2 separate regions of the Homo sapiens genome follow, and region 1 is linked to region 2. The links are contacts of gene promoters, found by promoter capture Hi-C in blood cells and fetal thymus (Javierre and others, 2016). All regions are on one chromosome and are shown on one strand. The core of a region is centred on a gene start or on the middle of the fragment in contact, and the rest is flanking DNA. Distances in the headings are between cores, read along the strand shown. Region 1 overlaps DAZAP1 (DAZ associated protein 1). Region 2 holds the start of BSG (basigin (Ok blood group)).

What was found. The method cuts DNA at HindIII sites, captures the fragments that hold promoters and counts their contacts. A CHiCAGO score of 5 or more calls a contact.
Region 1: a contact is called between a fragment that was not itself captured here and the fragment with the promoter of BSG in region 2, in 1 of 17 cell types (neutrophils). The highest score is 5.6, in neutrophils.

The regions. Positions count from the first base shown.
Region 1 is chr19:1,413,017-1,417,961 of GRCh38, reverse strand. It overlaps DAZAP1 (DAZ associated protein 1), which reads right to left. Exons shown (of 12, transcript NM_018959.4): 2 at 422-462. Among named protein-coding and RNA genes, the nearest start is that of DAZAP1, 7.9 kb to the right of the region's middle. RefSeq lists enhancers at 840-1,434, 1,435-2,028. The HindIII fragment of the contact is 2,921 bases long and covers 1,439-4,359 here.
Region 2 is chr19:568,443-573,867 of GRCh38, reverse strand. BSG (basigin (Ok blood group)) reads right to left here and starts at 1,272. Exons shown (of 9, transcript NM_001728.4): 1 at 1,167-1,272. The coding sequence starts at 1,233. It overlaps BSG-AS1 (BSG antisense RNA 1), which reads left to right and starts at 1,620. Exons shown (of 3, transcript NR_184018.1): 1 at 1,620-1,759; 2 at 2,272-2,428. RefSeq lists silencers at 932-1,111, 1,282-1,501 and enhancers at 2,322-2,371, 2,452-3,024. The HindIII fragment of the contact is 7,021 bases long and covers 1-5,425 here.

The DNA.
Region 1 (4,945 bases), core at 1,650-4,149, 840 kb before region 2:
GTAGGCGTCCAGGAAGGCAACGTTTAAGGCAAGGCAAACAAGACAACTCTGAATGCTGGCAGTGGCCAAGGAGCGCCGACTTTGCTACACACTCTTTCCTCCTATTCTGAACTCAGTAACAGCCTGGCCAGCCCCCAGCCCTCTGCACTTCCAGACAACAGCTGTCTGCCTCCACAAGCCACCTCAGCCCGGAGCTAGGAACCTGCAGCCTGAGGTCTTCCCTGTAACTTGGGATGGAAATACCAAATTAACAGTCTCAGAGCAAATACACACTTACTCTGTCCCCTGCCCAGAAATCAGAACAACGTCAAAAGGACTTTAAAATATCCAAGACAGTAGCAAGAGGCGGGCAGACACAACTTGAAGGCCGAGGTCCTAGAGCCCATCTGCAGTACCCACCTGACACCCCTTCCCCACCTACCTTGGGTCGTGCTCCAGTCAAGACCGCCCACGAAGAGCTTCCTGCGATTCAATGAGAAAACATTCAGGATCAAGACAGCGCTCGCCTTAGAAATGCCCCCATCCAAGCCAAGCTGAGGTCTTAATTCAAACCACAGAAGCAGCTGACGCAAACGTCCTTGTGCACGTGACGGCATACAAAGCTCACAGCAATGGCGAGTCAGCCTCGCCCATGCTGTCTGCAGACATGAAAGATGATCCCAATCCTTGCCATGGGGAGAGGACCGTGCCACAGAGCCGCACGCTGACCTCATGCGTGGCGGGCGATGAGTTCCTGGGACAGGCCAGTGGTGACGGCACCACGCTCACCTGCACTGCTGCCAAGTGGGACACAGGCTCGCTTTCCTACAGCTTTTGCGAGTATTTTATAATCAGGAAAAAGAATGTAGAAGTCTACATCTGAAATGATGCACAGTAAACTAGAAGCCTATGCCACACGGCCTCTGAATTACAGCCTGGGGCGGGGGTGGGGGGACACAGACAGAAGCCTCCCAATGAGCCTGCACTCACGAACTAACGAGAGGCCCACAGATGAAGGTGAAGGCCCTGAAGCTCCAGTCTCAGCACTGGCCCCACTTACTTACCCCCGACAAACCCGCGCCACCCCCATTCTGGGGCTGTCTCTTATTGGCAGATGAGAAGGGCCTGAAATTCAGTCTCAGCACTGGCACTTCCTGCCTGCCCCCACCAAAGACCCGCGCCACCCCCGTCCTGGGGCTGTCTCCTCCGGGCAGAAGAGCTGGAGCTCTCCCAAGGCGTCCGCCATCGACCCTGCAGCGACGCCCAAGGGCCCACTCACCTTTCCACCTCACTGCCGCTCCAGGTGGCCCCAGGGCCTTGGCTGTGCCAACTCCCAATGGGGACTGTGCCAACTCCCAATGGGGACTGTGCCACCTTGAGTCAGCCATGGCACCCACTGGGCATGTCTGAGACACCACAAGGCTTACCCAGGCACGGGGCCTTAGATGTCATTCAAGCTTCCCCCAAGCCCAGGAGGCAGGGAAGAGGTGGTTCTATCGGCGACTCTCCCATCCTGCCTGCTTTCCCTGGGAAAGAGGACACGCATTCAGAAATGAAGTCCCTGAGCTGAATCTCAGCTGTGACTCAGTGCCAGCACCATCATCACCCTTGGTCTCCAGAGAGCAAAACACCGTGCAGGCCAAAGCTCCCACCTGAGCCGCAAGAATCCTGCCAGCCTCACTGAAAGCACCATTCCCACGCGGGGCCCTGTATCCCTGACGGCCAACCACACCACCCTTGGCTTCGGCTTTCAGCAAAAACGTCGCTGTCAGGTTGAACACGTTACTGCCCCACCAGCAGCAGGAGCAACGTGCTCCTCCCTGCTCCTGCCAGCTCGCCAGGAAAGACCCCTGCAAGGTGGCTGGCACACTCATCACCTCTCATCAACCACCACCTGGGGCCTGTACACTCAGCCCCCGCGAGTCAGCCCCTGGTGAAGTGTCTGCCACAGCCAACCGCCAGGAGCTTGTCCCTGTTCCTTCTTTTTTCCCTAAGAACGACTGATTTAAATTTAGTGTGTGAAAAACAAAGCATGTTCCCACCACAGGAAAGGCACCCACTGCCGTCTTCAAAACGTCAACAAGCAACCCCCCAGCCCCGTTCTTCGGTGGGGAGGGCTGAGGCGGGAAGAATTAGAGGCGGGGTGTGCCAGCCGCCCTGTGCTTCCTGACCCTTAGAGACGAGATCTGAAAAGGCAAATTTCAGGGAAAACCATGCTGATCACGCAACAGCAACAGGCTTAGGTTGAGGCCTCATTAACTTAAAATCCTACGTCTCCCACGCACCCTTCGCAATCAGGCCAGGGAGCGTTGAGGTCAGGCCTAGAGACCGTGGGAGGAGCGAGGCCTCCGCGTGCCTCACTCTCCATAGGCTGTGCCTCACTCTCCATAGGCTGTGCCCGCGCTGAGTCAGGGCCAGCCCCGCCCACATCCCTGCCAGCAGGGCCCGGCACCCAGCAGGAGCCAGCAGCAGCCCCCACCCCATGAAGGAAGGGCCCCCAAGCCTGGCTGGAACCGACCGGAAAAATGCTCATTTACACAATCCTTTGGAATTAAAGTTCAAGCAGTTCTCAAAAAAAAAAAAAAAAACAAAACACACACACACACACACACACACACACACACACACATAAAACCCTGAAAACCAAACCAAATCCAAGTCACTTGAAGAAACAGCAGCCTGTAGTCAGCACTGCACCCACCCAACAGCCAGGTAACAGGCAGGTGTCCTCCAAGCAGCCCAGTACCCCCTCCACCCCCACCTCACTGGCAGAAGGAACTCGTCAGACCAGTCCAGTTTCGGTCTTCATTTAAATTTCAAAAATTGTGTATTAAGGGGGAAGGGCTAGAAACGCTCAGCTGAGAAACCTGAAACAGGGCCGGGGGGGTTAGATAACCTGGTATCAGTACTGTCTTTCTCAGCTGGGCGCAGATCACGCCTATAATCACAGCATTACGGGAGGCCAGGAGTTCAAGACCAGCCTGGGCAACGTAACGAGACTCCAGGTGGTGGCAGGCACCTGTAGTCCCAGCTACTTGGGAGGCTGAGGCAGAAGGATCGTTTGAGTCAAGGTCGAGGCTGCAGTGAGCCGTGATTGTGTCACTGCACTCCAGCAGGGGTGACAGAGATCTCATCTCTTAAATAAAATTAAAAAAAAAATAAAAAATACTCTTAAATAAAATTAAAAAAATAAAAAATACTCAAATACAATTTTAAAAAATAATAAATACTTTCTCAATTTTTTTTTGAAAAATTGTCTCGCTGTGTTGCCCAGGCTGGAGTGTAGTGGCGCGATCTCAGCTCACTGCAACCTCCGCCTCCCGGGTTCAAGCGATTCTCCTGCCTCAGCCTCCCGAGTAGCTGGGACTACAGGCGCCCGCCAGCTAATTTTTGTATTTTTAGTAGAGACGGGGTTTCACCATATTGGCCAGGATGGTCTCAATCTCTTGACCTCGTGATCCACCAGCCTCGGCCTCTCAAAGTGCTGGGATGACAGGCGTGAGTAGCTGCGCCCGGCCACTTTCTCAATTTTGATCACTGTGCTGTGTTCATGTGAGAGAATGTCATTGTTCTTGGGAAACAATAGATATCTCAGTGTACACATAAAGGGGACTGCATCGGTCTCCAGCTACTCTCAAATATTTCAGTAGAAACACACACAGTGGGGATGGGTGCACTGGCTCACGCCTGTAATCCCAGCACTTTGCAAGGCTGAGGTGGGCGGATCACCTGAGGTCAGGAGTTCGAGACCAGCCTGGCCAACATGGCAAAACCCCATCTCTACTAAAAATACAAAAATTAGCTGGGCTCGGTGGTGCGCACCTGTAATCCTAGCCACTCGGGAGGCTGAGCTCGAGGTGTACTGCTTGAACCCGGGAGGCGGAGGTTGCACTGAGCCAAGATCAAGCCACTGCACTCCAGCCTGGGCGACAGAGTGAGGGTCCATCTAAACACACACACACACACACACACACACACACACACACACACACAGTTCACTGGGGGTGGGGCAAGAGGCACCACGTGCCAAAGGGTAAAATGTCAGCCAATGGTGAGTCTGGCAGGGCCAAGAGGATATGGGAATTTTTGTAATTTTCCTGTAAGTCAGAAGTTATATATACAATTATGGTATAAAAGACTTTCATTACTGAGAACAAGACAGAATTTCAGTTTCTTTTGAAACAAGTCTCAGTCCTTATGGAATCTGAGACAGCAACAGATAGCTTTCGTTTCACATAGCTGTGTCTGGAGCTCCCCACCGCAGGTGACCCGCCCGCCTCGGCCTCCCAAAGTGCTAGGATGACAGGCGTGAGGCACCGCGCGCGGCCACACTGTGTGTTTCTGTTGAGATATTTGAGAGCAGCTTCTAACGCTAAAGCTTCCTGTGTCCATGTGTCTTTTACTACCACTCAGGAGCCACCGGCGAACACCTTCTCCCTGGTCTACAGACAGAAGCCTCCGGGAAGTCCCGGAAAGCAGGGTCATCTCTTCAGTGGCAGGGACTGCCTCCAGGGCCCTGGCACAAAGTCCCTACTTCTGAATCTCAGGATGTTTTAATCAATAAAATAAGAAAGCTCCTGGCTGCCAACCTCACCAGGTCGTGAGTGAGAAGCCGGCACATCAGAAACATGCGGAGCCCTGGGCAGGCACCTCCCAGACACTGTCCATCAACTGCCCAGGCAGCAGAACCAACTCTCACACAAGTAAACGTCGGAGTCCAGGAAGCCGGGCGCGGGCAGAGGCCAAAAGGAGGAGCTGCTGGCTCTCGTGGGCTTGCTACGGGGCTGGCGGTCCGCTTGTCCTCAGCTCCAGGCTTGCTCAGCCTGCACCTTGGCTGGCGGCGTGTGGACTGAGGACGTTAACGGGGCAAGGCAACACTGGCCTACGCAGATGAAGGGGTCGGTGAGCAATGTGGCTCCTGCACCCTGCCTCTGAGGGGCCCGCTGGGTGGGAGAGTCATCACCCA
Region 2 (5,425 bases), core at 23-2,522:
TCAATCCATTTCCCAAATGCGCTCTCCAAACCACGTTTGCCCACCCTCAACACACGGCCCTCCTAAGACAGCACTGGAAACCGAATGCGGGTCAGAGTCGGCTAAAAACGACTTTCTCACTATTTCCTGCGCTGAATCGGGTGGCCAGGGCCCCCTCACTGTGACCTTGGAACCTCGACTTCCCACAGGGCTGTTTCCTCGCCTGTAAAGGAGGAGGGGCGTTCAGAGACCACCTCATTCTGGGTGCTGAATCCAGGCAGAATCAGAGGGAGATTCCGCCTTCCCTTCCACGCAGGGCCCCTCGAGGGAGCCTGCGAGGTCTTAAGAGTCTGGGAGAACACCCGGGGGCAGGTGCACGCCCTAGGCAAGACGCCAGGGCTAAATCCCGTGAAGAACGGTAATCCCTTCCCGATCCGGAGGGCTGACCCACTCAGAGCCTCCATGTGCTCTTGGAGGACAAAAGCCCCTTTTCCAGAAGGGAGCGCCAAGATGATCGCTCCAGGCCGCACGGGCCCTTGCGGGGGCCCCAGAGAGTCTCAGGGGAGGGTCTCTGACCCTAACACTCGCAGGCAGGGTGGACCCGTCTCCAGATTCCACGCCCAGGCCGCTTTCCCCAGGTCCTGCGGAGTCCAGCCCCAGCAGGACGGGTTGGGCAGGCACCAACCAGCCCCTGACCCCTGGCTCCAGGCCAAAGGGGACGCTCACCCAGGCTTTGGGTCTCCCTTCTCCTGGCCGATGGGACCGGCGGGCGGGCCACCTCCAACCGCCTTCGCAGACGCCCTCACCCAGGAAGCAGGTCACCCCCAACCCCAGGTGACCGAAAAGCAAGACGCCCACCTCCCCTGACCAAGACCGGCCTGGCCAGGACCCCCTGGCTCCCGCCTCCAAGCAGGGAGCTTCACGCCCACACACAGAGGCCGGGCTCGAGGCCGGAGCGCCCGGGGGAGCCCGGCAGGCCGCGCCGGGAGGAACCTCTAGTCCCCCCTCAAACCCTGGGACTTCACCCCCAAGCTCCATGCTGGCGCGGGAAGCCCCCGGGGCCGGCCTTTCGCACCCCAGGCCGCCCCGCGCCGAGGCCCCAGGCTCCCGTCGGCTTCGGGTCGGCACCGCGGCCTCCATTCCCGGCCCCTGCAGGACCGCACCCCCGCCCCCTACCCGCTCCTCACCAGCCCCGGAGGCTCCGTGGGTGCCCAGCAGCGCGAATCCCAGCAGCACGAACAGCGCAGCCGCCATGATTCCTATTCCTCGCCGGTCCTACAACCTCCAACCGCTGCCGCCGCCGCCCGCGGCCGCTATAAAAAGCGGCGGAGGCGCGGACCGGGCGCGCGCACGCACGGCGTCATCTCGGGGGCGGGGCGAGCGCCGGGGACGCCGGTCGCCCCGCCTGCGCACGCGCGCACACGCTCGCATGTACGCGCCGGCTCCGGCAGGCTCACGCTACGGAATCCGGGCGGCGGCGCACGTGACCCGGCGTTGCTAGGAAACGGGAGTGGGGCCTGCGGGGACGCGGCTGGAGCCTGCGCATTTCTTCCTTCCTGCTTTCAAAGTTGCAATGAGCGCAGAGCGGTGCGCCCGAGGGGGTTGAAGCGTTGAAAGTGTGTTACCCAGATTTTATCTGAGTTAAACACGGGCCGGCCGCTGTGGCTCACGTCTGTACTCCCAGAGCCTTGGGAGGTCGAGGCGGGAAGATCGCTTGAGCCCGGGAGCTCGAGACCAGACGCGGCAACATGGCGAGACGCACATCTCTGCCTTTAAAAATGTACATATATATATATATATATGAACGTATTAATAAATTAGGTGGGAGGAAGTGACCTCCTCCGCCCAAATAAAAATACTTAAAGGGCACTTGAATCTGGATCTCAGAAAATGAATAATTTCTTAGTATAAACGTCCTGTGCACCATTTGGTTGGGACAAGTAAGTTCCTCTTCAGAAACTCAACTTCCAGGTCTAAAGTTGTCAATCAACCTTACCCCCTTCTTCTTTCCTCGCAGGTGGCGCGTTTACCCTATTTTAAAAAAGTTTTAAGTTTTAGCCAACCGGGATCAGCTTAGATTGTGGGCGTCCAACCCCAGCCAACAGGGAAAGGACAGAGGAACAGAAGCTCCCTTCCTTTGTCCCGTGTGCTCTGGAGATTGCATCCCACGCAGGCAGCCCCCTTCCGTACAAGTAAAGTGGTCTCGCTGAGAAATTTTCTAAGTGCTGGTTTCTCTTTGCGGGACCGACTCGCCGCCCCCAAATATCCCATTTGGATCCCATTCTGTTTCAGGAGAGGCTGGCGGTTACCTTTCTTGGGGAGACGCGTCCGACTGCTTCATTGTGGGGGCCTCAGGAGCGGAGGATCGGGTCCCGCCCGAGGTGACGCGTAAACCCAGACTCTCAGCAACGCGGGTAGGAAGGACCCTTGAAGTTCCGCGGCGACCACGGTGAGAAAAGTCGCTATTGGGGCGACACAGGTGGGGGCGTCTCTTGGAGGTTGAAAGTGTGTGTTGGAAGTTAAACTCGGAGTCGCAATGCAAGAGGACCGCAGACTAAGCCGAACGCGAAGGGCTAACTGGAAAGGGGCAGGAATGTGGCTACACTGGCGGGAAGAGCCCGTGGCGACGGGAGGGGGATGTGCAGAGTGGGTGGCAGGTGCCATCTCTGCAGATCAGGACCGGCGGGAAACTTGTTTACTGAGACTCAGACGGGGAGGCCCAGAGGGTGAGGAAGTCAGGTTGGCCTTGGAAGTAGGAAACGAAGAACGAGGGCGCTGAACGAGCCAAACCTTTGAAGAGGAACTTGTGAATGAATGAGACGCGCCATATCTTTTGTGTGTGTGTGTGTTGGAGTCTCGCTGTGTCACCCAGGCTGGAGTGCAGCGGCGCGATCTCGACTCTCTGCAACCTCCGCCTCCCGGGTTCAAGCGATTCTCCTGCCTCAGCCTCCTGAGTAGCTGGGATTACAGGCGCGCACCACCACGCCCGGCTAATTTTTGTATTTTTAGCAGAGACGCCCCATATCTAAAGAAGGGTGGGATCCTCTAGACCACCTTCCCCCACTCACCCCTCCGCCCCTCCCAACCCACCCCCTCCGCCCCTCCCAACCCACCCCCTCCGCCCCTCCCAACCCACCCCCTCCGCCCCTCCCAACCCACCCCCTCCGCCCCTCCCAACCCACCCCTCCGCCCCCCCCACCCACCCACCCCACCCCTCCGCCCCTCCCCAACCCGCCCCTCCGCCCCTCCCACCCACCCCTCGCCCCTCCGCCCCTCCCCCACCCGCTCCTCCGCCCCTCCATCCCTCCCCTATAGAACCACCTGGACCTTGCCACCCACATCCCCGCTGGACAGCCACTAGAACATGCCCCTTCCTCAGGAAAGCTCCAACGGGAAACAGAACAATGCCAAAGGGATATTCGAAACTTTCGGCCGGGCGCGGTGGCTCACGCCTGTAATTCCAGCACTTTGGGAGGCAGAGGCGGGTGGATCACGAGGCCAGGAGTTCAGGACTGGCAGCCTGGCCACGATGATGAAACCTCGCCTCTACTAAAAATACGAAAATTAGCCGGACGTGGTGGCGGGCGCCTGTAATTCCAGCTACTCAGCTACTCGGGAGGCTGAGGCAGGGAATGTCTTGAACCCGGGAGGTGGAGCTTGCAGTGAGCCGAGATCGCGCCACCGCACTCCAGCCTCGGCAACAAGAGCGAGACTCCGTCTCAAAAAACAAACAAACAAACAAAAACCCACAGAACTTTCCTTTTGCCTCCTGCTCAAAAAGACCTGCCTCAGCCCTTTTCCCCTTTAGGGAAGGACCACCGGGAGGAAGGGATATTGACTTCGTAAATGCCCCCTTTAACCAGTTCAGAGGTTAGAAATCTAAAAGAACTCAAACCACTGTTAGATGACCCTTTTGGATTCGCGGATCAAATTGACCAATTTCTGGGGCCACAGCTGTACGCTTGGGCTGAATTAATGTCTACCCTCAGTACTCTCGTCTCAGGAGAGAGAGAACCATGATTCACAGGCCGCTGTGTTAGTCTGGGAGCGTGAACACCCCCCGGTCAGAACGTCCTTTCAGCGGAGCGTAAATTCCTGGCCCAAGATCCTGGGTGGGATGACAATGTGACCTAAAAAACATGAGCGATCTCGGAGATGGGATAATTACAAGGATTCGGGAATCAGATCTGCAAACCCAAAATACTTCCCGAGCATTTAACGTACAACAGAGGAAACATGAAGGGCCCATGGGGTTTTTTTTGGAGACAGAGTCTCGCTCTGTCGCCCAGGCTGGAGTTCAGTGGCGCGATCTCAGCTCACTCCAACCTCCGCCTCCCGGGTTCAAGCGATTCTCCTGCCTCAGCCTCCCAAGTAGCTGGGATTACAGGCGCCCGCCACCACGCCTGGCTAATTTTTTGTATTTTAGTGGAGACAGGGTTTCACCATGTTGGCCAAGATGGTCTCGATCTCCTGACCTTGTGATCTGCCCACGTCGGCCTCCCAAAGTGCTGGGATTACAGGCGTGAGCCACCGCGCCTGGCCAGGCCCGTGGAATTCTTAAACAGACTTAATAAACAGATAAGAAAATATGCAGCTGCCGGCTCACGCCTGTAATCCCAGCACTTTGGGAGGCTGAGGTGGGCGGATCATGAGGTCAGGAGATCCAGACCATCCTGGCTAACACGGTGAAACCCCATCTCTACTAAAATACAAAAAAATTAGCCGGGCGTGGTGGGGGCGCCTGTAGTCCCAGCTACTCGGGAGCCTGAGGCAGGAGAATGGCCTCAACCCAGGAGGCGGAGCTTGCAGTGAGCCGAGATCGCACCACTGCGCTCCAGCCTGGGCGACAGAGCGAGACTCCGTCTCAAAAAAAAAAGAAAGAAAGAAAAAAGAAAATTGGAAAGACCATCCCATAGAGGAACTTTTTTTTTCTTTTTTGAGATGGAGTCTCACTCTTTTGCCCAGGCTGGAGTGCAGTGGTGCGATCTCGGCTCACTGCAACCTCCACCTGCCAGGTTCAAGCGATTGTCCTGCCTCAGCCTCCTGAGTAGCTGGGACTACAGGCACGCGCCACCACGCCTGGCTAATTTTTGTACTTTTAGTAGAGACGGGGTTTCACCTTGTTGGCCAGGCTGGTCTTGAACTCCTGACCTCAAGTGATCCGCCTGCCTCCACCTCCCAAAGTGATGGGATTACAGGCATGAGCCACCACGCCCAGCCAAGAAAGAGAACTTTTAACTGCTGGGGGCAAAGAAATAAAATACAAAGAAGAAATTTTACAGCTCCTAGGCCGGGCGTGGTGGCTCAGGCCTGTAATCCCAGCACTTTGGGAGGCTAAGGCAGGCGGATCACCTGAGGTCAGGAGTTGGAGACCAGCCTGACCAACATGGAGAAACCCCATCTCTACTAAAAATACAGAATTAGCCGGGCGCGGTGGCAGGTGCCT